7 separate regions of the Homo sapiens genome follow, and regions 1, 2, 4, 5, 6 and 7 are each linked to region 3. Evidence: promoter capture Hi-C in human tissues and cell types (Jung and others, 2019). All regions are on one chromosome and are shown on one strand. Each heading gives the region's core, a stretch centred on a gene start or on the middle of the fragment in contact. The rest is flanking DNA. Distances are from core to core; before and after follow the strand shown. Region 1 has its middle 86 kb from the start of NTNG2. Region 2 overlaps LOC105376299 (a long non-coding RNA gene). Region 3 holds the start of RAPGEF1 (Rap guanine nucleotide exchange factor 1). Region 4 has its middle 23 kb from the start of FAM78A. Region 5 holds the start of LOC105376302 (a long non-coding RNA gene). Region 6 overlaps NTNG2 (netrin G2). Region 7 has its middle 11 kb from the start of NTNG2.

Region 1 (3,641 bases), core at 664-3,163, 510 kb before region 3:
TGAGAAAGGAGGTGTGAGTGAGCCTGAACCCTCCTAGCAGGTTTTGGGGAGGGGGCACAGAGGAAACAAAGCAATCACAGCAGCTGACACTTAGGGATGGCTGACTTGGTGCCAGGCCCTGTTCTAAACACTGCGCGGCTCAACTCATTCACTCCTCACAACGGCCCCACCCTGCAGGCGCTATTTTTAACATCCCCATTTCACAGATGAGATGGCCAAGGCACAGAGAGACTGAGGAACTTGCCCAAGGATGTATAGTTGGCAGGTGTGGGGTACAGCTTCAAGCCCAAATCAGGTTCCAGAGCTCACCGTCCTTCTGCCTGAGGAGCTGCCCTCCCCTTCAGGGGCAGAAATGCGGGCACTGGGTCAGCAGTGAAAGGCACGAGCTCCCAGGACTCTGGGCCTCACTCCAGCTACTCCTGGCTGGGTCCCAAGGGCCACCTGCTCCATCATCCAGGGAGAGAGCCTCTGGCTGGAAGCCATCTGGAGCACTTTGGCCGCAGGTGCCTCCACCTGGCCGCCCCTGTGGGGCAGCAAGGTCTCCTGTGCCACCAGGAGCACAGGCACTGGGCCAGACCCTGAGGTGTCAGAAGGGTACATGGCAACCCCCTGCCCTGGGAGCCAGAGTCCCACTGCCAGCCGGCCCAGGCTGGGAGGGGAAGAGGGTGAGAGGCTGGGCAAAAAATGAAAGGTGGGGCTTTGCATTTCTTTTTGTTTTTTTTTGAGACGGAGTCTCCCTCTGTCACCCAGAGGAGTGCAGTGGCATGATCTAGGCTCACTGCGACCTCCGCCTCCCGGGTTCAAGCGATTCTCCTGCCTCAGCCTCCCGAGTAGCTGGGATTACAGGCACCTGCCACCACGCCCAGCTAATTTTTGTATTTTTAGTAGAGACGGGGTTTTGCCATGTTGGCCAGGCTAGTCTGGAAGTCCTGACCTCAAGTGATGCGCCCGCCTTGGACTCCCAAAGTGTTAGGATTACAGGCATGAGCCACTGTGCCTGGCCTTGCATTTCTTTTTTCTTTTATTATTATTATTATTTTTGAGATGGAGTCTCACTCTTGTCACCTAGGCTGGAGTGCAATGGCATGATCTCAGCTCACTGCAACCTCTGCCTCCTGAGTTCAAGCGATTCTCCTGCCTCAGCCCCCTGAGTAGCTGGGATTACAGGCACCTGCAGCCACGCCCAGCTATTTTTTATATTTTTAGTAGAGAAGGGGGTTTCACCTTGTTGGCCAGGTTGGTCTCGAACTCCTGACCTCAGGAGATCCATCCACCTCGGCCTCCCAAAGTGCTGGGATTGTGGGCGTGAGCCACCACGCCCGGCCTCTCTTTTATTTTAAAAGGCCTCCTTTGATAGTCTAGATACAGTGCTAAGTTTTATATAGCAGGCTAAAGAAGGATGTGTATACGATGAGGCCATTGTTGTTAAAAATAAATAAGATAAATAAATAAAGGGAAAAAATAAAATAAAAAAAGGTGCAGGGCTGTGCAGCCTGCCCAAGAGAGTGCATTTGAATCCTGGCCTCTGGCTCTTCCTGGCTGTGCGACCCCGGGCAACTTACACACCCGCTCCGTGGTGGACATTCTTTCTTTGTTTTCTTCCTCTGGTTGAGGAAACAGAGCCCACCCCCCCTTGCTGGAGTGGCAAATGCTGGACTGGAGGGTGCGGGTGCGTGGTGGGGGCTGTGGTGGGGAGGCCAGCAGGGGGTAGCCCTGGGGGTGAGGGATGTGCCCAGGGCAGCGCCCAAGGCAGCATCTGAAGCTCTGGCTCTCCAGCCACCCTGGGCGGGATACTGGGTGCCCTTCCTGACTCCACTTTACCTCCTCTTTTTTGTTTTTTTGTTTGTTTTTGAGATGGAGTTTTGCTCTTGTTGCCCAGGCTGGAGTGCAGTGGCACAATCTCAGCTCACTGCAACCTCTGCCTCCCAGGTTCAAGCGATTCTCCTGCCTCAGCTTCCTGAGTAGCTGGGATTACAGGCATGCACCACCATGCCCAGCTAATTTTGTATTTTTAGCAGAAACGGGGTTTCTCTATGTTGGTCAGGCTGGTCTCGAACTCCTGACCTCAGGTGATCCACCCACCTCAGCCTCCCAAAGTGCTGGGATTAGAGGCATGAGCCACTGAGCCCAGCTGTTTGTTTTTTTGAGACGGAGTCTTGCTCTTTGCCCGGGCTGGAGTACAGCGGCGTGATCTCGGCTCACTGCAACCTCCGTCTCCTGGGTTCAAGGGATTCTCCTGCCTCAGCCTCCCAAGTTGGGGGGGGGACTATAGGCATCTGCCACCACACCCAGCTAGTTTTTATTTTTATTATTATTATTTTTTTGAGACGGAGTCTTGCTTTGTTGCCCAGATTGGAGTGCAGTGGCGCGATCTCGGCTCACTGTAACCTCCACCTCCCAGGTTCAACGGATTCTCCTGCCTCAGCCTCCCAGGTATCTGGGATTACAGGTGCCCACCACCACGCCTGGCTAATTTTTATATTTTCAGTAGAGACGGGGTTTCGCCATGTTGGCCAGGCTGGTCTCGAACTCCTGACCTCAGGTGATCTGCCTGCCTTGGCCTCCCAAAGTGCTGGGATTACAGGTGTGAGCCACCGCGTGGCCCACTTTCCCTACTCTTACCTTGTTCTCCTGACATGTGTCTGAGGGGTCTGTGATCCTTTAATCTCCTCTGCCTCTTAAATCACCTGGTGTTTTGTTTCGGTGCTTGTGGCTAAGGTCCCTGGCCAGGACGCTTTCAGAGCCCTGGTATGTGGAGCTGTAAGATGGCCATATTATATTAATTGATCCCACGCTCAGCATCACTGAAGGGACCCTTGAAATAAGGCATGTCCAGCCTCAGTGCTAGGGCTTAGCAATTGCAGGGGTGGGGGGCGATGTCTGAGTGTGGGTTTTATTTTATGGAAAAACACTAGAAATATCTATCAGAAAACATTAACAGTTATGCTGGACGTGGTGGCTCACACCTGTAATCCTAGCACTTTGGAAGGCTGAGGAGTGAGGATGGCTTGAGCCCAGGGATTCGAGACTAGCCTGGAAAACATAGTAAAACTCCGCCTCTACCAAAAATATGAAAAATTAGCTGGACGTGGTGGTGCACAGCTGCAGTTCCCCCTACTCCAGAGGCTGAGGTGGGATGATGGTTTGAGCCCAGGAGGTGGAGGTTGCGGTGAACCGAGATCGTGCCACTGCACTCCAGCCAGGGCAACAGAGCGAGACTCCGTCTCAAAAAAAAAAAAAAAAAGTATTAACAGTTATTAGCTCTGGATGAAGAATTGTGGGTGAGTTTAATAGAAAAATTATTATGATTTTGCTTTTCTGTATTTTCGAACTTTCCTACAAGTTGTGACAGGTGGTTTAAACGGAAAAATAAATAAGTAATGTTTTTCTTCCTGGGGCCTTTCCCTTAACTCTTCTGGCTGGGATGTGCCGGGATGGACCAGGCCCCTGGGGAGACAGGGAGGCGGGCTCAGGTCTGCCGGGAGATGCTGCTGGCTGCTCCCCAAGCTCCCATAAATGCCTCGTAACTGTAAGGCATGAGCTGGGCAGGAAATGCCGACGCAGCAATTCTGCTTATTTAGGGGAGTGGGTGGGGGCAGGGGACAGGCCATGCTGCCGCAGAGGGCCAGGGGAGGCGTTTC
Region 2 (3,620 bases), core at 351-2,850, 400 kb after region 3:
CAAGAGCCAAATCATGAGTGAACTCCCATTCACAATTGCTTCAAAGAGAATAAAATACCTAGGAATCCAATTTATAAGGGATATGAAGGACCTCTTCAAGGAGAACTACAAACCACTGCTCAACGAAATAAAAGAGGACACAAACAAATGGAAGAACATTCCATGCTCATGGATAGGAAGAATCAATATGGTGAAAACGGCCATACTGCCCAAGGTAATTTATAGATTTAATGCCATCCCTGTCAAGCTACCAATGACTTTCTTCACAGAATTGGAAACAACTACTTTAAAGTTCATATGGAACCAGAAAAGAGCCCGCATCGCCAAGTCAATCCTAAGCAAAAAGAACAAAGCTGAAGGTATCATGCTACCTGACTTTGAACCATACTACAAGGCTACAGTAACCAAAACAGCATGATACTGGTACCAAAACAGAGATATAGACCAATGGAACAGAACAGAGCCCTCAGAAATAATACCACACATCTACAACCATCTGATCTTTGACAAACCTGACAAAAACAAGAAATGGGGAAAGGATTCCCTATTTAATAAATGGTGCTGGGAAAACTGTCTAGCCATATGTAGAAAGCTGAAACTGGATCCCTTCCTTATGCCTTATACAAAAATTAATTCAAGAAGGATTAAAGACTTAAATGTTAGACCTAAAACCATAAAAACCCTAGAAGAAAACCTAGGCAATACCATTCAGGACATAGGCATGGGCAAGGACTTCATGACTAAAACACCAAAAGCAATGGCAACAAAAGCCAAAATAGACAAATGGGATCTAATTAAACTAAACAGCTTCTGCACAGCAAAAGAAATTACTATCAGAGTGAACCTACAGAATGGGAGAAAATTTTTGCAATCTACCCATCAGACAAAGGGCTAATATCCAGAATCTACAAAGAAACAAATTTACAAGAAAAAAAATCAAACAACCGCATCAAAAAGTGGGCAAAGGATATGAACAACCACTTCTCAAAAGAAGACATTTATGCAGCCAACAGACACATGAAAAGATGCTCATCATCACTGGCCATCAGAGAAATGCAAATCAAAACCACAGTGAGATACCATCTCACACCAGTTAGAATGGTGATCATTAAAAAGTCAGGAAACAACAGGTGCTGGAGAGGATGTGGAGAAATAGGAACACTTTTACACTGTTGGTGGGAGTGTAAACTAGTTCAACCATTGTGGAAGACAGTGTGGTGATTCCTCTAGGATCTAGAACTAGAAATACCATTTGACCCAGCGATCCCATTACTGGGTATACACCCAAAGGATTATAAATCATGCTAATATAAAGACACATACACACGTATGTTTATTGCGGCACTATTCACAATAGCCAAGACTTGGAACCAACCCAAATGTCCATCAGTGATAGACTGGATTAAGAAAATGTGGCATGTATACATCATGGAATACTATGCAGCCATAAAAAGGATGAGTTCATGTCCTTTGCAGGGACATGGATGAAGCTGGAAACCATCATTCTGAGCAAACTATCGCAAGGACAGAAAACCAAACACTGCATGTTCTCACTCACAGGTGGGAAGTGAACAATGAGAACACTTGGACGCAGGATGGGAAACATCACACACTGGGGCCTGTTGTGGGGTGGGGGGAGGGGGGAGAGATAGCATTAGGAGAAATACCTAATGTAAATGATGAGTTAATGGGTGCAGCAAACCAACATGCCACATGCATACACATGTAACAAACCTGCATGTTGTGCACGTGTACCCTAGAACTTAAAGTATAATTTAAAAAATAAAATAAAAATAAATAAATAAATAAAGTGTTAAAAAAAGAAAGAAATATCAACATGAACTTATGAATTTGGGGGTAGCCTTCCTGTCTTTGGCACACTGGAAGAGCTGTGGCGTAGTTTCTCAGGGCTACGGTAACAAAATGTCACAAACTGGTGGCTTAGAACACAGAAATGTTCTGCCCCAAATTTCTGGAGGCTTGAGGTCCAAAGTGAGGGGGTGGAAAGGGCCACGCTGTGTCTGAAGGTGCTGGGAATCCTCCCTCCCAGGCCTCTCTGCAGCCTCGGCCACGCTGCGTCTGAAGGTGCTGGGAATCCTTCTGCCCAGGCCTCTCTCCAGCCTCCAGCAGCCTCCAGTGTTCCTTGGAGTGTGGCGGAGTCACTCCTGTCCTCCCTCTTCACAGCCTGTCTTCTCCCTGTGTCTTTTTTTTTTTTTTTGAGACAGAGCTCTGTCACCCAGGCTGGAGTGCAGTTGTGCAATCACAGCTCACTGTAACCTCCGCCTCCCAGGTTCAAGCAATTCTCCTGCCTCAGCCTCCCAAGTAGCTGGGATTACAGGCATTCACCACCATGCCTGGCTAATTTTTGTATTTAGTAGAGATGGAGTTTCACCATGTTGTCCAGGCTGGGCTCGAACTCCTGGGCTCAGGTGATCCACCCATCTCAGCCTCCCAAAGTGCTGGGATTACAGGCGTGAGCCACTGCGCCCGGCCTTCTCTCTGCGTGTTAATGTTGCTTTCCCTCTTTCCTTCTGCATGTCTTCTCTGTGTGGCCATTTCTCCTTTCTATTTTTTATTTATTTATTTATTTTGAGACAGAGTCTTGCTCTGTTGCCCAAGCTAGAGTGCAGGGGCATGATCTTGGCTCACTGCAACCTCTGCCTCCCAGGTTCAAGTGATTCTTCTGCCTCAGCTTCCCAAGTAGCTGGGATTATAGGCATGCACCACCATGCCTGGCGAATTTTTATATTTTTAGTAGAGACGAGATTTCACCATGTTGGCCAGGCTGGTCTCGAACTCCTGACCTCAAGTGATCCACTTGCCTTGGCCTCCCAAAGTGCTGGGATTACAGGCATGAGCCAATACGCCTGCCCCCCTCCTTTTGATTTTAATTTCATATTTTTGAGATGGAGTCTTACTCTGTGGCCCAGGCTGGAGTGCAGTGGTGTGATCCTAGCTCACTGCAGCCTCAAACTTCTGGGCTGAAGTGATCCTCCTGCCTCAGCCTTCGGAGTGTCTGGGACCATGGCATGTGGTGCCACCACACCCGGCTAGTTTTATGTTGTTATTGAGACAGAGTCTTCCTATGTTGCTCAGGCTGATCTCAAACTCCTGGGCTCCTCCCACTTCAGCCTCCTAAAGTGTTGGGATTACAGGCGTGAGCCACTGCACCGGGCCACATTTCCCCTTTTTATAAGGACACCGGTCATATTGGATTAGGGTCTCACCCCCCGATGACCGCATCTTAACCCGGTTACCTCGGTAAAGACCACATGAGGTCACATTCTGAGGGACTGGAGGTTAGAACATCAGCATATTTTTTTGGGGACGCACAATTCACCCCTTAACAGCCTGTAAGCAAAGACAACTTGGTAGCAGCGAGCACAGCAAGCTCTCAGATCCTGGGGCATTTGCTGCTGGCCTTCCTCAGGTCAAAAGATCTGATGCTGCCCCTACTCCACTCACACATCCAGCTGAGGCCCAGGGGTTGCAAAAGCCTGGACTGGAGGGTGTGAGGACCTTTCACGAACGCCGCCTACCCTGAGCTAGCTGGGGGTCCCTGTGCATTACGCAGTCAGGCTGGAGCCCTGGCCCCAGCGGCAGGTGTCAGATTAGAGAAA
Region 3 (4,016 bases), core at 562-3,061:
TTAGCCAGGGTCTTCCTCTGTCACTCAGGCTGGAGTGCAGTGGTGCAATCATGACTCCCTGAAACCTCTGCCTCCAGGGCTCAAGTGATTCTCCCTCATCAGCCTCTCAAGTAACTGGGACTACAGGCAGGTGCCGCCGTGCCTGGCTAATTTTTGTATTTTTAGTAGAGACGGAGTTTCACACATTGCCCAGGCTGGTCTCGAACCCCTGGGCTCAAGTCATCCACCCACCTCAGCCTCCCAAAGTGCTGTGATTGCAGCCGTGAGCCACTGTGCCCAACCACGACTTTTTTTTTTTTTTTGAGACGGAGTCTCGCTCTGGAGCCACCAGGCTGGAGTACAGTGGCATGATCTCGGTTCACTGCAACCTCCATGTCCTGGGTTCAAGAGATTCTCCTGCCTCAGCCTCCCAAGTAGCTGGGACTACAGGCGTGTGCCACCATGCCCACCTAATTTTTGTATTTTTAGTAGAGATGGGGTTTCACCATGTTGGCCAGGATGGTCTCAATCTCTTGACCTCGTGATCCACCTGCCTCGGCCTCCCAAAGTGCTGGGATTACAGGCGTGAGCCACCGTGCCCAGCCACGACTTTTAATGAACTCATTTCCACACTAGAAAAGTTCCACAGCTGAGCCCCAGGGTGCCCTTCTGGATGTCAAATAAGCAGGGCAGGCAGGGTGTGCTGTGTCCCTGAGGGAGTTGGGCCCAGGCCAGCATGGAGGCTCTAGGCCTCAGGGGACATTTAGGCCTGAGTAGGGCCAACCCCAGCCCGGGACAGGTGGCTCTCGCTGGCAGGGTGACTGAGTCCCACATGCAGGGCTGGGGTGGAGAATGAATCCTCCGCCTTGGCATAGACCTTGGGCCAGCAGAGGGCTTTCATGCCAGAGTGGACTCATTCCCCGGCTGGAGCCTCTGGGCTGGCAGGAGGTGCTATGAGGCCACTCCCAGGCCCTGGTGTGGGGTCTCCAATTAAGAAGGGGGTGCGGGCAGGGTGCAGTGGTTCACACCTGTAATCCCAGCACTTTGGGAGGCCAAGGTGGGTGGATCATGAGGTCAGAAGATCGAGACCAGCCTGGCCAACATGGCGAAACCCCGTTTCTACTAAAAATACAAAAATTAGCTGGGCATGGTGGCATGTGCCTGTAATCCCAGCTACTCAGGAGGCTGAGGCAGGAGAATTGCTTGAACCCGGCAGGCAGAGGTTGCAGTGAGTCGAGATCGCGCCACTGCTCTCCAGCCTGGCGACAAAGTGAGACTCGGTCTCAAAAACAAAAAACAAAACAAAAAAGGGGGTGCTGCATCTCTGGTTTGGGGGAGGTCAGGACAGGCTCCCAGCCAGCAGAGCTTGTTGAGTCCTGGTGAGAGTGAGTTCTAGGCCCTGGTGTGGAGCCTCTGGCCCACAGGGGATGCTGGGTCCGGGATGATGCTAGGGTGGGGTGGGCGTCAGTTCCACGTCCTGGGGTGGAAAATCTGACCCAGGAGGGTTCTCTGTGTCTCTGGTGAGGGGGCAGGCCAGGCTCTTGGGCAACCGAGGACCCTGGGTTGGAGCTGTCAGTCCCAGGTCTGGAGCTGGTGACTCTGGTCCCACAGCAGAGGAATGCGGAGTCCCAGGCGGGGTCGGCCCCACACCCCAGGCCCCAGGCCCCGGCGTGGGGACTCCGGCTCGGCAGGGGGCGCTGCGTCTCGCGCGTCGCGCGGGAGGCTCGGGCGGCTCCGGGCCCACAGGGGGCGCTGTGGCGGCGCGGCGGGCGCCCGGCAGGTGGCGCTGTGGCCGTGGCCGCGGCCGAGGCCCGGCGGGCGGGCGGGCGGCGTCGCTGCGCTGCGGCCGGCTCGCGGGCCGGGGGAGCGGCGGCGGGCGCGCGGGAGGCGGAGCGGCGGCGGCGGGCGCGGCGGGAGCGGCTGGGCCCGGGCGGGCTGGAGCGCGGTCGCCGAGCGCAGGGCCGCGGCCGCGCGGAGCCCGCCATGCCGGCGCGGGTCTGAGGCGTGGCGAGCCAGGGCCGAGGCGAGCGGCGGGCGCGCCGCCCCTGTCGCCCCGCGGCGGCCCGGCCCGGGCCCGATGAGCGGCGGCCTCGGCCTCCGGCGCAGCCCGGAAATGTCCGGCAAGATCGAGAAAGCAGGTGAGGCGCGGGCGTGGGGCGGCTCCCTCCGGCCGGGCCCGGCCCTGGGGCTCCGCCGCTCCCCGGGCCGAGCGCGGGTCGCCCGGGATGTGCGGCCCTCCGTGCGCCGGGGCGGGGTGAAGCCACCGAGGCCTCGCCGGGGCGCCTGGCAGCTTCTCCTCCAGGCCCATTGCCTGCCGGGCGCGGGGGGAAGCGGCCGCTGCGGGGGCGCCAGGGGCCGGGCCGGGCGGGGCCCCTGCAACCCGGGGCCGGGCGCGCTAGCCGCTCCGCGGTCCCCGGGAACTTCCGAAAATGGCTCGAGCCCCAAGCAGGGGAAGAACAGCCCGGGCCGCGTGCTGCTGCGGCTGCAGCGATCGGTGCCCGGCCTGGGCTCGGCGCTAGGAGGGTGAACCCAGCTGAGCTGTAAAATGTGTCATTTCTAACGAGCTTCGAGTTTAACGAGAAGCGTCCACTTCGGTTGCTTCAAAGGAAGCAGGCTGGATGAGTGGGGGTATTTTGAGGAGGTAGTCAAGTTTCCCCTCCCCACCCCGATCAAGCTCAGCTCTGCAAGGAGGGCAGGTGGGGGACCGGTGGGTTGGAGTAGATGGTAAATCTTGATGCAGACCTCGTCTCTTTGTGTGTTCCTAGAAATCTGGGGGAGTTACCTTCCGAGTCCCTGGGTTTGCCTGTCCTGGAAATAGAGTCTCCAAAGATTCAATGACTGTCGAGCCTGTGGGGCCCCAGGCTTTATTAGCCTGCAGCACCTTGCAGGGCAAATGCGAATTCTTGGGTCTAAGGTGAAGTGGGCGGGTGCTCCTGGGCTCCTGTACTGGGAGCATGCCCTGTGGTCATAACCCCGGTAGCAGGTTAGCTTGGCGGCTGAATGAGGGAAAGCAGATTTTTAGGGAGCTGCAAAGGAGGTCTGTGGCTTTGATTGTGGAAGTTGCTTATGTTTCCTGGGTTGAATCTGGGATACTTCTGTGGGGTGCACCCCTGCAGCGGACCCACAAGGCAATATGACTTTTGCAGGCTGTGGTTGAAGCACAGAAGGACATTTTTGTAGGCTTTATTGAGGGTTTACTATATATCTAACTCTTAGCACCTAAAATGCATTGCTTCTTAAATTTTTGAAGCTAGTCTGTGGGAAAGAATATGGTCCCAGTTTTACAGGCTCAGAGAGGTTCAGTGAGTTCCGGCTGTCCAGACAGCAAGAGGGCGGCAGGCCCCTAGTATATTCATTCCTGGCCCTCTGACCAGAAGCCAGGGTGCTTTTCTCAGGGGCAGGGCGCTTGGGTTCAGGTGCCATTTCTTGAGTATTTTTCTCACTGAATTTGAGCCCCCACAGCCTTGCCGAGTGACCATGAGTCGCCATCCTGTACACCTGCTGCTCCAGAAATAACTTGGGTTCATCTGTGCAGCATTTCTCAGGAACTTCTTGTATAGTGTCTTGTCAGAACGGTACTGTTGGGAAACTTGGATAATTTATTTTAAAAAGAACATTCACTGAGTTCTTTTATAAGAACTTTATAATATATAAGATTATATTATATCTTTTTATATCTAATATAAGATTATATTATGTTTTATATCTTTATAATATAAGAATATTCTATGTTCATTGTCAAAACTTGGAAATCACAGAAAAGTAAAATGAACCGGATTGGAAATCATCTGTCAGCCAGGTACAGTGGCTCACGCCTGTAATCCCTGCATTTTGGAAGGCCAAGGCAGGAGGATCACTTGAGCCCAGGAGTTTGAAACAAGCCTGGGCAAAATGGCGAGACCTCATTGCTACTTTAAAAAAAATTTTTTTTTTTTTTTTTGAGACGGAGTCTTGCTCTGTTGCCCAGGCTGGAGTGCAGTGGTGCGATCTCGGCTCACTGCAAGCTCCGCCTCCTCCTGGGTTCACGCCATTCTCCT
Region 4 (3,699 bases), core at 810-3,309, 490 kb after region 3:
GCGCTTGCAGGCCCTCGGAGGTTTCTAACAGCCCAGGTGATCTTCTGTCGCCTCTGGCTTGGTGGTTCTCTTGGTCATCCTCTATCCTGCTTGGGCGCCCCCACAGAAATGGCTTCCCACCTGGTTGGGGTCTGGGCATAGGATGAAAGCAAATATTTTACTGTGTGACAGTCCAAAAATTGCCCATCAGGATCACAGGGCACAACCAGCCACTCCGGTGCTGTCCAGGCCCCTTCCTGCCACTGCTGACCCTTCAAGTATGCTCTTCCCCTTCAATCAGTGAGGACGCTGCCCCACAGAAGGGACCAAGGGGCTTGCCAAAGGTCACTTTTCTGGGAAGATGCAGAGCTAGGCTGGTTTCAAACACCCGGCCTTTGACCCCGTGCTTTGTCTCAGCTCCTTCTATGACACCCCAGCCTTCTGGTACCCCAGTTCTACCAGACTGCCCTCAGCTGTCCTGTTGCTAAGGTTCCTCGGCATGACGCTGAGTCCGAGTCCTTAGCAGCCCTGTTGACCCTGGACGATGGAAACTTTTTTTTTTTGAGACGGAGTTTCACTCTTGTCCCCTAGGCTGGAGTGGAATGGTGCAATCTCAGCTCACTGCAACTTCTGCCTCCCGGGTTCAAGCAATTCTGCCTCAGCCTCCTGACTAGCTGGGATTACAGGCGCTCCACGCCACGCCCGGCTAATTTTTATATTTTTAGTAGAGATGGGGTTTCACCACGTTGGCCAGGCTGGTCTCGAACTCCTGACCTCAGTGATCTGCCCGCCTCGGCCTCCCAAAGTGCTGGGATTACAGGCTTGAGCCACTGCGCCCGGCCGATGGAAACTACTAAATGCAAGCGAACACGTCGGAGTGAATGAACTCCATCTCTGTGCCTGTGTGCAGGGAGGTGAACCCGAAATCAACATGGGAACTGGCGAAGGCCAGCCCAGCTCCCTTCAGGCCCAGACGGCACGACTTGGAATGCAGAGGCAGGATTAGTTCCTGTATCAGCCTGAGCCCTGGTTCTTATTTCATGTTCCCTTTTCAATCAGACAGAAGAAGGGTGGGTGTTTACGGCGGGCCAGACACAGCTGGGAGCCCTGCACTATTCCTGGCTGCCACTTGCCTTGCTGAGTGAGGCCAGGCTTGTCGCTCAACCTCACATGCCTGAGTTTCCTAATCGTCAGGCCAGAGACACGCACACTTACCCTGTCCTCCCCGGTCCGGGGCCCAGCAAAGGCATAGCAGTTGTGCTCCGTGTTAAACATGCAAATGGAGCCCCCAGAATAATCACACTGAGCACCAGGGCTTAGCTCAGAGACCAGGGACTCTTCTCTCTAAATACGGCTCAATTCTTCTGCAACATCTAGACCACAGGGGCCTGGCTTAGTGATGTGGGATTCTCAGCATCCATGACAAATGCAGACTGAATGCTGGTCAGACAGTCACACAAACGTATTAAAATGCTTTACCTCAGCTTTATTGGGATACAGTTCACATACCACACAACTCACCTATTTAAAGTACGGTTCTGGCTGGGTGTGGTGGCTCCTGCCTGTAATCCCAGCACTTTGGGAGGCCAAGGCGGGCAGATCACCTGAAGTCAGGAGTTCAAGACCAGCCTGGTCAACATGGCGAACTCCTGTCTCTACTGAAAAAAATACAAAAATTAGCAGGGCATGGTGGCACACGCCTGTAATCCCAGTTACTCAGGAGGCTGAGGCAGGTGAATCACTTGAACCTGAGAGGTAGAGGTTACAGTGAGATTGCACCACTGCACTCCAGCCTGGGTGACAAAGACTCCATTTAAAAAAAAAAAAAAAAGTGTACGGTTCTGGCCGGTGCAGTGGCTCCTGCCTGTAATCCCAGCACTCTGGGAGACCGAAGTGGGAGGATCTTGGGCTCAGGAGTTTGAGACCAGCCTGGGCAACATAGTGAGACCCCATCTCTACAAAAAAACTTAAAAATTAGCCAGGCATAGGCCAGACTCAGTGGCTCATGCCTGTAATCCCAGCACTCTGGGAGGCTGAGGCAGGTGGATCACAAGGTCAGGAGTTCAAGACCAGCTTGGCCAAGAGGGAGAAACCCTGTCTCTACTAAAAATACAAAAATTAGCTGAGTGTGATGGCGGGCGCCTGTAACCCCAGCTACTCGGGAGGCTGAGTCAGAGAATTGCTTGAACCCGGGAGGCAGAGGTTGCAGTGAGCCGAGATTGTGCCACTGCACTCCAGCCTGGGTGACAGAGTGAGACTCCATCTCAAAAAGCTAACAACAACAACAAAAATTAGCTGGGCGCGGTGGCACATTCTCGTCATCCCAGCTACTCAGGAGAATGAGGTGGGAGGTCGAGGCTGCAGCGAGCCCTGATCGTGCCACCGCACTCCAGCTGGGCGACAGTGAGTCCCTGTCTCACAAAATAAAAGCAAATAGAAAGTGTACGGTTCTATGGTTTTAGTATATTCACAGATACGTACAATCACCTTGGCCCAGTTGGGCTCTAGAATAAAGTAACCATAGACCGGATGCCTCGTCAACCACAGAAACCAATCCTTCACAGTTCTGGAGGCTGGAAGTCCAAGATGAAGGCGCCCACAGTTTCTGCGTGGTGAGGGCCACCTCCTGGTTCACAGAAGCGCCTCCTCGCTGTGCGGTCATGTGACGGAGGCCGGAAGGCAGGTCCCACAGCCTCTGGGGAAGGAGAGCCCAGAGTAGCTGAGGAACTGGGGTGCCCACACCAGCCTGCTGGGGGCTTCAAATGTTCTTTTAGGAGTGACAAGGGAATCGACCTGCCCAGCTCTGCAGCCCTGGGGGCCACAGAGGACCGGGGCACAGCCGGCGCCTCTGCTCAGGGCTCCGGCCTCCATCTCTGGGAGCGAGCACCCGTGGATGCCTCACTCCACCCAGGGTCACTGTCGCGCAGCAGCAGCTTTCCAGAAGGCAGCCGGCCATTGACGAGTGACCAGGCGGAGACGGTGAAGGCCAGAAGTTCCTCCAGAGGCCGCGTGCCAGCCCCTCGCCTGTGAGGGGGGCCTGGGTCTCCGGGCTCCCCAGGACGGTGCTTCCTCTTGCAGCTGGGCCTGGAGGCCGGAGAGGGTCATGTGAGCCCTCCTGGGCGGGCGGTGCCTCTACGGCTGTGACCTTGAGCAAGTCCCCCTCCTCTCAGGTCTCGGTTTCCTAGGACATGGAGTGGGGACGGAGGTGGTTCCTCACCTCACGAGATTGCGGAGGCACGTGAAGCCGATGGTCCTGAGCTTCTGGACAAGTGCCCAGCCCAGAGTAAGCGCTTAGCAAATCCGAGTGATTCGGCGGCACCACTGAGCCTCGGTTTCCTCATCTGCAAGACAGGGTTACGCTTTCCTCACAGGGAGGAGGGTTCCGGGGGGTCATCAGGCAAGGCCCTCAGCACAGAACCGCCAATAGCTAACACCTATTATTGACCTTGTTGTAACAGGATGATAAAATGGTTTTCTTGACTGGGCGCCACGGCTCATGCCTGTAATCCCACCACTTTGGGAGGCCAAGGCAGGAGGATTACTTGAGCCCAGGAGTGGAGACCAGCCTGGGCAACATAGTAAGACCCTGATCTCTACAAAAAATAGAAAAAATTAGCCCAGCGTGATGGGGCATGCCTGTAATCCCAGCTCCTCCGGAGGCTGAGTCAGGAGGATTGCTTGAGCCCAGGAGTTCAAGGCTGCAGTGAGCTGTGATTGCAC
Region 5 (3,669 bases), core at 915-3,414, 360 kb before region 3:
ATGTAGTTGCTAATTTATCTCTGTCACAACTCTAAAGCTTTTGTTAATATAATTAAAACTTCAGAACCTATTAGTTCTGTGTCTTGCTTTAAGCCCTCTATCCTGGGCTGCAATCAGCCTGGTTGCTGTGCTGGGCCCTGTGCACACCTGTGGTCTGGGTCCTCTGTAATAACATTTACCTCTCTCTTCTGTTGCATCCCCTGTTTCCTGGATTCTCTGTTTTCCACTTTCTTGGTTTACTCTCTCATTTTGATGGAGCACGTCCTCTAGTAGCTTCTTGAGAAAAGATGCATGGAAGGAAAATTCAGTGAGACCAGGCATGTCTGAAACATACTTAGTCCACACTTACACTTGATTGATAAAATTATCAGCTGGAGGCTGAGTGCAGTGGCTCACACCTGTAATCCCAGCACTTTGAGAGGCTGAGGTGGGAGGATAACTTGAGTCCAGGAGTTCAAGACCAGCCTGGGCAACATAGTGAGACCCTATCTCTAAAAGAAAAAAAATTATCAGCTGGACATGGTGGTGCATACTTTTAGTCCCAGCTACTTGAGAGGCTATGGTGGAAGGATAACTTGAGGCCAGAAGTTCAAGCCTGACTAGTGCACTACAGTCGTGCCTGTGAAGAGTCACTGCATTCCAGCCTTGGTAACATAGCAAGGCCCTCTTTCTAAAAATAAAATAAGATTATCAATAAGTTCTAGGTTGGAAATATTTTTCCGCAAGATTATGAAGGCCTGTGCCTTCTTCCAATTTCCAGTGATGATGTTAGAAAGTCCAATGCCTGTGGGCAGATCACCTGAGGTCAGGAGTTCAAGACCAGCCTGGCCAACAAGGCAAAACCCCGTCTCTATTAAAAATATAAAAATTAGCCGGGCACGGTGGCGCATGCCTGTAGTCCTAGCTACTTGGGAAGCTGAGACAGGAGAATTGCTTGAACTTGGGAGGCGGAGGTTGCAGTGAGCCGAGATTGTACCACTGTACCCCAGCCTGGGCGACAGAGCGAGACTCCGTCTCAAAAAAAAAAAAAAAAAAGTCCAGTGCCTGATCCTTGATCTTTTGTGTATGACATTCTGTCTTTGGAAGCTTTTGACATGATTTTACACTGGCACTCTGAAGGCTCTTTAAATCTGGAAATGTTTGCCCTAAAGTTTTGGGAAATTGTCATGTATTATTTTTCTTTGATAACTTCTGCCCCTCTATTTTCTCTCTCTCTATCTCTTTTTTTTTTTTTGACCTGGAATTCCTCATTTTGGATATTGAACTTCCTGGACTGTTGTAGAGAGAATAATGCCCCTCTACAGATTTCCACATCCTAATCCCCAGAACCTGTGAATATGTTACCTGACAGGTGAAAGGAACTTGGTAGAGGTGACTACATTAAGGATCTTAAGATGAGGAGATTAAGTTGGGTTTAATCAAACAGCAAGGATTTTTTTTTTTTGAGACAAAGTCTTGCTCTGTCAACCAAGCAGGAGTGCAGTAGTGCAATCATAGCTCACTGCAGCCTCAGACTCCAGAGTAGTTGGGGTCACCAGTGCCACCACACCAGGCTAATTTTTAATTTTTTACAGAGGCGGGGTCTTGTCATGTTGCCCAGGCTTCTCTTGAACTCCTGGCATCATGTGATCCTACTACTTCAGCCTCCAAAGTGCTGGGATTACAGGTGTTGGCCACTGTTCCTGGCCGCAAGGATTCTTATAAGAGGAAATCAGGAGGGTCAAAGTCAGAAAAAGGAGATATGACCATGAAAGCAGATGTTGGAGTGATGTGCTTTGAAGGTGGAGGAAGGGGCCACAAGCCAAGGAATTCTCTAGAAGCTGGTAAAGGCGAGGAAACAGATTCTTGCTTTGAGTCTCCAAAAAAGAACCCAGCCCTGCCAACACCTTGCTCTTTGCCAAATTAGACTCATTTCAGACTTATGACCTCCAGAACTGCAAGATACTATTAATGTTATTATTAATATTATTATTATTTTTTGAGACAGAGTCTTGCTCTGTCACCCAGGCTGGAGTGCAGTGGCATGACCTCAGCTCACTGCAACCTCCTGGGTTCAAGTGATTCTCCTGCCTCAGCCTCCTGAGTGGCTGGGATTACAGGCATGAGCCACCATGCCTGGCTAATTTATTATTACTATTATTATACTTTAAGTTCTAGGGTACATGTGCACAATGTGCAGGTTTGTTACATATGTATACATGTGCCATGTTGGTTTGCTGCACCCATTAACTCGTCATTTACATTAGGTATTTCTCCTAATGCTATCACTCCCCCTGCCCCCCACCCCATGACAGGCCCCAGTGTGTGATGTTCCCAGCCCTGCGTCCAAGTGTTCTTATTGTTCACTTCCCACCTATGAGTGAGAACATGTGGTGTTTGGTTTTCTGTCCTTGTGATAGTTTGCTCAGAATGATGGTTTCCAGCTTCATCCATGTCCCTGCAAAGGACATGAACTCACCCTTTTTTATGGCTGCATAGTATTCCATGGTGTATATGTGCCACATTTTCTTAATCCAGTCTAGCATTGATGGACATTTGGGTTCATTCCAAGTCTTTGCTATTGTGAACAGTGCCGCAATAAACATATGTGTGCCTGTGTTTTTATAGTAGCATGATTTATAATCCTTTGGGTATATACCCAGTAATGAGATCACTGGGTCAAATGGTATTTCTAGTTCTAGATCCTTGAGGAATCGCCACACTGTCTTCCACAATGGTTGAACTAGTTTACACTCCCGCCAACAGTGTAAAATCATTCCTATTTCTCCTCATCCTCTCCAGCATCTGTTGTTTCCTGACTTAATGATCACCATTCTAACTGGTGTGAGATGCCCAGCTAATTTTTGTGTTTTTGGTAGAGACGGGGTTTTGCCATGCTGGCCAGGCTGGTCTTGAACTCCTGACCTCAGGTAATCTGCCCGCCATGGCCTCCGAAAGTGCCAGTATTACAGGCATGAGCCATTGCACCCGATCTATATATGTTATTTTAAGTCACTCAGTTTGCAGCAATTTGTGACAGCAACCAAAGGAAATGCATACAGGAACTAACAGGCACCTACTGTGTGGCAGGCACCGGACCACAGTCTACATTCCTTCTTTGCTGAAGCTTTCTGGAGCCTTCTGATCTGGGTGGGCCTTACTTTGCAAATTCTCCCTCATTGTGCTCATCACAATTCTGATTAAATCATCAGGGTTTTTTATTCATTCATGTCTCTCTACCCACTAGACCACAGGCTCTATGAGGCCTGGGATTATGGGTTTGTTTGTTTTATTCACCACTTTGTCGTGTGGATGTTAATAAATATGTGGTGAGTGAATGACTAAATGAATCAAAGGGATTATCCCTGGTAGTCCTCACAGCAACCCTGGGAAGTAGGAACCATTACTCATTTCACAGGTGACGAACTGAGACACAAATGAGGCCCCATCACTTCTCTAAGGATGCATAGATTAGAAGGGGTAGAGCCAGGATTTGCACCCAGCGTTGTTTGGTGGGGCCTTCAGCCCATGAGCTTAGCCACTAAGCTAAAGATGTCCCTCCAGACTGTCTGCCTCTGCCTCCCTGACTGTCCCCAGCCCCCAGCCTTTGCTGACTTCTGCCCAGAGACCTGACATTCTGGAGGAAGGAGCATCTTAATTAGGCCACCCTGCAGCTGTTTGGGGAGCTGC
Region 6 (3,997 bases), core at 1,113-3,612, 430 kb before region 3:
CTCAAGTGATCCTCCTGCCTCGGCCTCCCAAAGTGCTGGGGTTATAGGTGTGAGCCACTGCACCCACCAAAACGTTGTTTAACTGGTTAATTTTATGTTATGTGAACTTCACCTGAGTTTTAAAAATGTTTTAAAATCTTTTTTAAAATGATTATTGCTATGCTGAGCCCGGGGTATACATCTAGGACCCCTCTGTCTGCACTGGAGTCCACTGTTTTGTGTGGTTTTGTCTCTGACCAATCTGGATTTCCCTAAACTCCCAGAATGTACCTGGCAATCAGCAGGGAACATTGAATGAACTGGTTAATCTAGCCAAATCTTCCCCGGCTGCTCAGTTGGGGAAACTGAGGCTGGGGGCGTATTCTCGCTCTCTCAGCAGCCAGGGCCTAGCACTCTGACTCCCGGTGGCATTCACTCTGCTCCTATGCACTGCTCCCTCCCCCGCCAGCAGTTGGTGTGTGCTCGGGGAATTAGAAACACATTTTCATATACTTAAGCAAATCTGCTGCTGATGAAAAACAAATCGGATCCTGCAAACCAAAGCCGAACAGACCGGTTCCCGCATCATCTGCCGTTTCTCCTGTTCCTCATGGCCCGGCCCCTCTAGGAAGGAGCCCTGCATCAGTGCTGGCCACAGGGACTCTGGCCAGGTCAGCCCCGGTCAGGGGCCATGGCTCAGCAACCACGTGGTCCAGCCTGGTGAGCTCTGGACCAGCCCCACGGCACAGGGCTTCCATGTTCTGGGTTCCTCTCAATTGCCCCTCAATTGCCCTCCTGCCCCTCTTGCTCCTTCAGAGCCTGTGGCCTAATCCTTCCTAACCCTAGCGAGCGGTCAGGAGCCAGACACAGGAAGGCTGAACCCCAGCTCCTACACTCAGTGGGCTCTGAGAAGTCTCAGAATATTCACCGGTCAGATGCACAGTAACAGACCTACAGGGGCTTGGATGAGGTGGGCAGGGGGAGTGGACTGTCTCCTCTCTGTCACCCACACACTTTCCCCTCGAATCACCTGGCCCCCTTCCCTGCGTCTCTGCACGAACCATTCCTTCTGCCCACATCCTCACTCTCCTGACCCTTCCCATCCTGCAAGACCCACTTCTGAGCCCACAGCCTGTGCCTCTGGCTGTGGGTTTGGCCTATGGGGTCCTCTTCTGTCCCTCAAGCTAAATTCTAGAATTAAAAAGGATAAAAATAAAAATACACTTTTTTTTTTTGAGACAGAGTCTTGCTCTGTCGCCCAGGCTGGAGTGCAGTGGGACGATCTCAGTTCACTACAAACCCCACCTCCCAGGTTCAAGTGATTCTCTTGCCTCAGACTCCCAAGTAGCTGGGATTACAGGCGCGCGCCACCACACCCGGCTAATTTTTGTATTTTTAGTAGAGACGGGGTTTCCCCATGTTGGCCAGGCTGTTCTTGAACTCCTGACCTCAGGTGATCCGCCCACCTCAGCCTCTCACAGAGCTGGGATTACAGGCTTGAGCCACCGTGCACCCGGCCCTTTTTTTGAGCATTCCTTTTGTGCTGGCTCCCAGCTGAGGTCATCACACGCCTGGTCTCGTCTTATTTGTACACACGTCCTTCGAGGTTGTGTCCAGCGCCATGCCCAGTTTCAGATGAGAAAACCAAGGCTCAGGGTCACAAGGGACTTATCCCAAGTCCCACATCCCAGAAGTGCGGGATGCCCCCGGGCCCCATCTCCTCCCTCCAGAAGCCCAAGTTCTCATCCGCAGCATGGTGCGGCCTGCCTGTCTGTCCGTCCGTCCATCTGTCCGTCTAATCTGCAGCATGGTTCGACCTGTCTGTCTGTCCGTCCGTCCGTCCGTCTCATCCGCAGCATGGTGCGGCCTGCCTGTCTGTCCGTCTGTCCATCCATCCATCTCATCCACAGCATGGTGCGGCCTGCCTGTCTGTCCGTCCGTCCATCTGTCCGTCTAATCTGCAGCATGGTTCGACCTGCCTGTCCGTCCGTCCGTCTCATCCGCAGCATGGTGCGGCCTGCCTATCTGTCCGTCTGTCCATCTCATCCGCAGCATGGTGCGGCCTGCCTATCTGTCCGTCTGTCCGTCTGTCCATCTCATCCGCAGCATGGTGTGGCCTGCCTGCCTGTCCGTCCATCCGTCCGTCTCATCCGTAGCATGGTTCGACCTGCCTGCCTGTCTGTTCGTCTGTCCATCCATCTCATCCGCAGCATGGTGCTCCTGCCTGTCTGTCCATCTGTCCGTCCGTCCGTCCATCTCATCCGCAGCATGGTGCGGCCTGCCTGTCTGTCCGTCTGTCCATCCATCCATCTCATCCGCAGCATGGTGTGGCCTGCCTGTCTGTCCGTCCGTCCGTCTCATCCGCAGTATGGTTCGACCTGCCTGCCTCTCCGTTCGTCCGTCCATCCATCTCATCCGCAGCATGGTGCTCCTGCCTGTCTGTCCGTCTGTCCATCCATCCGTCTCATCCGCAGCATGGTGCGGCCTGCCTGTCTGTCCGTTCGTCTGTCCATCCATCCACTGCCTGCCCCATCGCAGGTGGGATTGGAGGCAGCTTGTCATTATACCCACAGTAAATGAGAAAAAGGGAAATGGATTAAACATCAGAGTTAGGAAGCATAGAGGAAGACAGCCTGGGAAGGTGGGGATGCGCAGACCGGAAAGGTCTGGGGGTCTCTAAGTCTCTGACATTCTTTGGAAAGATGTCCCATCTGGGCCCTTTCACACAGCTGCCTGCCTTCCACGGGGTGTCTGGACCCAACCTCATTCCCTCAAGGGAAGTCAGAAGCAAGGGTCTCACTCCCTGGGCCCCGGGCCTCGGTCTTCTCATTGTCTACTGCCCAGGAGGGAGACTTCACTGTGCAACAAGATGTCATTTCACAGAACTATTCTTGTCCTAGGCTGGGCCCTGCCTCGGGCATTTCAAGAGACTGAGTGGCTTTAACGGCTGGTGCAGCTCAGGTGCCGAAGTCACTTGCAACTGACTTAAGGACAGAGTTGTGCAAACCTCCCGGCTTCATCCAATCGCAAATCCCACAGAACAGGGACTGCAGTGGAGAGAAGCAGGGGCTTCCAGGGTCTCCTCTGTCCTGACCCAAACCCCAGTTTTTCCTTCAAGACTCAGCCCTGGCCAAGTGCAGTGGCTCACTCCTGTAATCCCAGCACTTTGGGAGGCTGAGGTGGGTGGATCACGAGGTCAGGAGATCGAGACCATCCTGGCTAACACAGTGAAACCCCGTCTCTACTAAAAATACAAAAAATTAGCCTGGCGTGGTGGCAGGTGCCTGTAGTCCCAGCTACTGGGGAGGCTGAGGCAGGAGAATGGCGTGAACCCAGGAGGCAGAGCTTGCAGCGAGCCGAGATTGCGCCGCTGCACTCCAGCCTGGGCGACAGAGCGAGACTTTGACTCCAAAAAAAAAAAAAAAAAAAAAAAATACAGCCCTGATCCTGCCTCCTCTGAGAAGCGTTCCTGGATCACACCATGCTTCCTCCCATGCATCCATTCATTCAGGAAATGCTTACTGGGCACTGATCAAGTCCAGAGGGAGGTGCTGGGGATGCAAAGATAGCGAGACAGCCCTGCCTTTGAGGAGCTCACAGTCCAGGGGAAAAGCAGACATCTAAAGTTACAGAATTGGTCCCAACAGCCAGCACGCAGTGAGCAACTACTATGTGCCAAGCACCGTGCTCATGACAGTCTCCTATGCACGTTCTATTAATAGCTCCCATTGAGAAACTAAGGTTCAGAGAGGTTAGGTCTCACATCAGAGATCACACAGCACGGGATTCTAAACTCTCCATTCCTAGGGCCAGAACTCTTCACTGATAGGCCAGTCAGTAAGCAGGATGATGACCAAATGAGGGCCTCCTCACCCCACTGGGCAAAGGAGTCAGAGAAGGCCTCCTGGAGGAGGAGGTAGGGTCCAACCTGAACCTTGAAAAAGGAGCCAGGGTTATCCAGGTAGAAGCGGAAGCCTTGAAAAGAAAGGAAGGAGGGGGCAGGCATTCGGGTGGAGGA
Region 7 (3,570 bases), core at 318-2,817, 410 kb before region 3:
ACTTGATCCAAGTCCTACACCAGGATCCAAACACATGCCTGTGACCCCACGGCCAGTGCCTTGACCCTTCCCCGCCCACATTTCTCAGAATTTCTTGCCCCAATTCTGTCCCCTGAAAGCTTTGGGACTGTAGCTGAGTCCCTGACTCCATTTCTGGGGTTCAAGATCTTCATCCATCAAGGGAGGAGTTTGAGCTGGTGGCACCTGAGGGTGCTTCCAGTGCTAACATTTTCAGATAAGCTGCTGGCCTCCCAGGTCCTCTCCTGACACAGGAGTCTCAGCTCACCCAGTACAAATGTTTCCCTGAACGATCAACACAATGACAACTCCCTAAGGAGAGGAGAGACATGCGTCAAGAACAGGATTGTTAGAAGCCTGACATTAACACACCATGCACATGGCACAGGTGACGCCCTGGGCAGCCAGCGGCGCGGCCACTGGGGAACACAGAGGCGGCGGGCCGGGTAGACAGGCCTGAGCTTCTGGTCTGTGCTTTGATTTTTAATTTTTGTCAATGTGAGCTCCAGAAATGCCTTATGGTACACTGGGAAAAACTCTCCTTTTGCAGCTAAATGGCCAAACATGTACCGAGCAACTGCTCTGTGTCTGCAGGGCCTTGGGAGCCCAAGGGTGAGGCTGGAACCTCTTAACCAGGTATGACCAGGCAGTTTCCAGAAAGAACCTCTTGGCATGAGGCATCCATATGTGGGGCTGCTGCTGTCCGGCTGGTCTGCACGAGGGCCACCACTCCCATTTGTTGAAACATTGAAATACTTCATGCATTTACTGTCGGCAAAGAGCCACTATTCTGGGCCCCTGGAGGGTCTCCCCATCCCACTTCCCAGGCCACTCAGCACCCTTCCTTGGGAACCTCTAGATAGCTAGACCTCCCCCAAACCCAGCAGCTACCTGGGCTAGTGCCTGGCACAGCAGCAGGACCTCTAGGTCTCACTCCTGCGCTCACCTGGCACCTGCCTGTCCCCTTGGGCGGCACCCATGGCCTGCTGGTTGTTCAGTATACTGATAATCACTGCTGACCTCAAACACACATGTGCACATGCCCGCAGCCCAGAGTTTGGGGTGATGTGGTTCTCTGCTGCCCTTGGGATTCCCTAGGGTGTTTTCAGGAAGACCCCGCTCCCAAGCATCCCCCTCAGGGCCCAGGTCACTGGGGTCGGGCCACCTTGGGGTCCTCCCACAGCAGAGCAGGAAGGCAACTTCTGGTCCTATAGAGCCTATGCTTTACTGTCCCCAGTAACCTTCCCCCAGCTAAGCCCACCCACCACTCTGCATTTTATAACCAGAGAGGAGAGTAGCTTCTGCTTCTGGAAGAGGGGGCTCTTCTCTGGCTGCCCTCGTCTGTGGTCTCTCAGACTCAGATGGAGAAGTGCAGCTGGCAGAGAGGGTGAAGAGGGGGAAAATTCCAAGTATCAGTGTTGACCAGGGGGCTGTGTTGAGCTGGATCCCAGGTTATCAGGACAGAGTGCTGTGATTGACTAGTCATGGCTGCCTGGCGATGGATTCGTCATGTCTGTCTGGATGGGGGAGAGGCACATTGGACTCCATGTTCTCCCTGTTTTAGAGGATGAGGATGAGTCTCTACCCACCCTATAGACAGCCCAGGGCCACACCAGACACACACGGTACTTGAGAAATGTGTTCAATTGAGGGCAATGTTAAACATGAAGCAAGCAACCTGTGTGTTTATTATTATTATTAATATTATTATTATTACTACTACTATTTGAGACAGGATCTCACTCTGTTGCCCAGGCCAGAGTGCAGTGGTGAGGACATGCCTCTACCTCCCAGGTTCAGGCAGTTCTCCCACTTCAGCCTTCCATGTAGCTGGGGCTACAAATGTGTGCCACCATGCCTGGCTAATTTTTTATTTTTTTATTTTTTGTAGAGACAGGGGTCTCACTAGGTTGCCCAGGCTGGTCTCGAACTCCTGGGCTCAAGTGATCCTCCTATCTCTGCCTCCCAAAGTGCTGGAATTACAGGTATGAGCCACCATGCCTGGCCAACCTGTGTTCATTGAGCACATATTATGTGCAACTGGATGATAAAGTAGGGAGAGGAACTGGGAGGGATGTTTCTGGGAAATTTGAAGCTTTGTTTATGTATCCGTCCATCCATTCATTCTCTCCACAGTTATTTATTGAGTGCCTTCAGTGCACCAAGCTCTGTGTTAGGGTCTGGAGATACAGAGCAGCATCTGCTCCAAGGAGCTTCCAGGGAGCTCCCTGTGTGGGGAGCCAGGCAAGGTGAGCACAGTAGAGTGTGAGCTGCCACCGGCGGCAGGGAGGGCGCACAGCCGTGCTGTTCTCCTCCCTGGCAGAGGTGCCCTCCCAGGACCGGCCGGGGTTATTAATATCCTGCTGAGTCAGGGGGCTCTTGAGTTTCAGCATCACAAGACGCCAAGACTGGGCGCCGCGGATATTCCTGACTCCAGACTGCCCTCTCCTTCTACCCTCCTTCCCACCTGCCCTTCCTTCCCTCACCTCTACCTGGCACAGGCTGTTGAGAAGGTGGCAGGTGCTGATGGAAGCAGGTCTGGCTTTGGGAGAAGGGGGAATGGGGGGAATGAGATCTTGGGAAAGAAGTAGTTCCAATCCCCACTCTACAACTCTCTCACCGTATAACCCGATGCGAACAATCTCACCTCTCCAAGTCCCCTTATCTACAAAAAGGAAATAGAGACAGCAATGATGCAGCATGAAACAGGCCGGTCATGCCAAGGGCTGTGCCTGAGTAGGTGTTAAAAAGTGATGTCTATTCATCTAATAAGTACCCACCAGGGCCGTTCCATGTGCCTTATCCAGAAGAATGACAGAACAAGACTGATATAGTTCTACCCTCCTGAAACCCAGATGGGTCAGGAGGCAGACAGCCAGAGGGTCAGAGGGAGCCGATGCTGGGGGTGCCCAGGCCTCCGCAGCTCCCACCTGATCCGATGTTTCCCCTGATACAGAGCCCTGCCCACACCATGCTGTGACTTCCTGGTTACTGGGGCCCCCTCCTCACACCTCCACCAGACTGCAAGCTGCACAGGGGAAGGCTTTGCCTGGCTGGCTCAGTGAAGACCTCTTGTGCCTTGCCCACAGTAGACACTCAATACATGTGTGCTAGCTGAATGACCCGACAAGCAATGAGTAAGAAGAGGGGTATGTGCAGTTTATATTAAATGACTCCTGTGTGCTCAGGTAAAGCTAAGTAATTAGTGGATTAATAGGATCAGCATCGATGCTAATTGGCATATTTAAAATCAAATTTGGCCAGACAAAGCGGCTTGCACCTGTAATCCCAGAACTTTGGGAGGCCAAGGTGGGAGGATGGCTTGAGGCCAGGAGTTTGCAACCAGCCTTGGGCAATGTAGCAAAACCTCATCTCTACAAAAAATAAAAATAAAAATAAATAGCTGGGCATGGTGGCCGGCGCCTGTGGTTCCAGCTACTCAAGAGGCTGAGGTGGGAGGATCACTTGAGCCCAGGGGTTCGAGGCTACCTAGTGAGCCATAATCGCACCATTGCACTCCAGCCTGGGTGACAGAGCGAGACTCTGTCTTAA

Evidence for each region. The method cuts DNA at HindIII sites, captures the fragments that hold promoters and counts their contacts. A contact is called where the count stands out against the background at its distance.
Region 1: a contact is called between a fragment that was not itself captured here and the fragment with the promoter of RAPGEF1 in region 3, in 5 of the 25 tissues and cell types used here (dorsolateral prefrontal cortex, heart right ventricle, lymphoblastoid cells and 2 more).
Region 2: a contact is called between a fragment that was not itself captured here and the fragment with the promoter of RAPGEF1 in region 3, in 1 of the 25 tissues and cell types used here (spleen).
Region 4: a contact is called between a fragment that was not itself captured here and the fragment with the promoter of RAPGEF1 in region 3, in 3 of the 25 tissues and cell types used here (adrenal gland, dorsolateral prefrontal cortex and spleen).
Region 5: a contact is called between a fragment that was not itself captured here and the fragment with the promoter of RAPGEF1 in region 3, in 2 of the 25 tissues and cell types used here (IMR-90 fibroblasts and dorsolateral prefrontal cortex).
Region 6: a fragment that was not itself captured here is called in contact with the fragment with the promoter of RAPGEF1 in region 3 in 3 of the 25 tissues and cell types used here (lymphoblastoid cells, spleen and stomach).
Region 7: a fragment that was not itself captured here is called in contact with the fragment with the promoter of RAPGEF1 in region 3 in 3 of the 25 tissues and cell types used here (adrenal gland, dorsolateral prefrontal cortex and lymphoblastoid cells).

The regions. Positions count from the first base shown.
Region 1 is chr9:132,246,155-132,249,795 of GRCh38, reverse strand. No RefSeq gene overlaps it. Among named protein-coding and RNA genes, the nearest start is that of NTNG2, 86 kb to the right of the region's middle. The HindIII fragment of the contact is 5,962 bases long and covers 1-3,641 here.
Region 2 is chr9:131,337,230-131,340,849 of GRCh38, reverse strand. All of the region lies in intron 1 of LOC105376299 (a long non-coding RNA gene), which reads right to left. Among named protein-coding and RNA genes, the nearest start is that of PLPP7, 49 kb to the right of the region's middle. The HindIII fragment of the contact is 6,560 bases long and covers 1-3,620 here.
Region 3 is chr9:131,737,871-131,741,886 of GRCh38, reverse strand. It overlaps RAPGEF1 (Rap guanine nucleotide exchange factor 1), which reads left to right and starts at 1,811. Exons shown (of 27, transcript NM_001377935.1): 1 at 1,811-2,117. The coding sequence starts at 2,057. RefSeq lists silencers at 1,588-1,847, 1,998-2,047, 2,098-2,427. The HindIII fragment of the contact is 28,094 bases long and covers 1-4,016 here.
Region 4 is chr9:131,251,670-131,255,368 of GRCh38, reverse strand. No RefSeq gene overlaps it. Among named protein-coding and RNA genes, the nearest start is that of FAM78A, 23 kb to the left of the region's middle. RefSeq lists enhancers at 986-1,487, 2,683-2,732 and a silencer at 2,439-2,755. The HindIII fragment of the contact is 9,598 bases long and covers 1-3,699 here.
Region 5 is chr9:132,099,818-132,103,486 of GRCh38, reverse strand. It overlaps LOC105376302 (a long non-coding RNA gene), which reads right to left and starts at 267. Exons shown (of 3, transcript XR_930403.1): 1 at 180-267. The HindIII fragment of the contact is 3,203 bases long and covers 563-3,669 here.
Region 6 is chr9:132,172,139-132,176,135 of GRCh38, reverse strand. The region is part of intron 2 of NTNG2 (netrin G2); the gene reads right to left. Among named protein-coding and RNA genes, the nearest start is that of NTNG2, 12 kb to the right of the region's middle. The HindIII fragment of the contact is 9,420 bases long and covers 1-3,997 here.
Region 7 is chr9:132,149,256-132,152,825 of GRCh38, reverse strand. No RefSeq gene overlaps it. Among named protein-coding and RNA genes, the nearest start is that of NTNG2, 11 kb to the left of the region's middle. The HindIII fragment of the contact is 3,649 bases long and covers 1-3,391 here.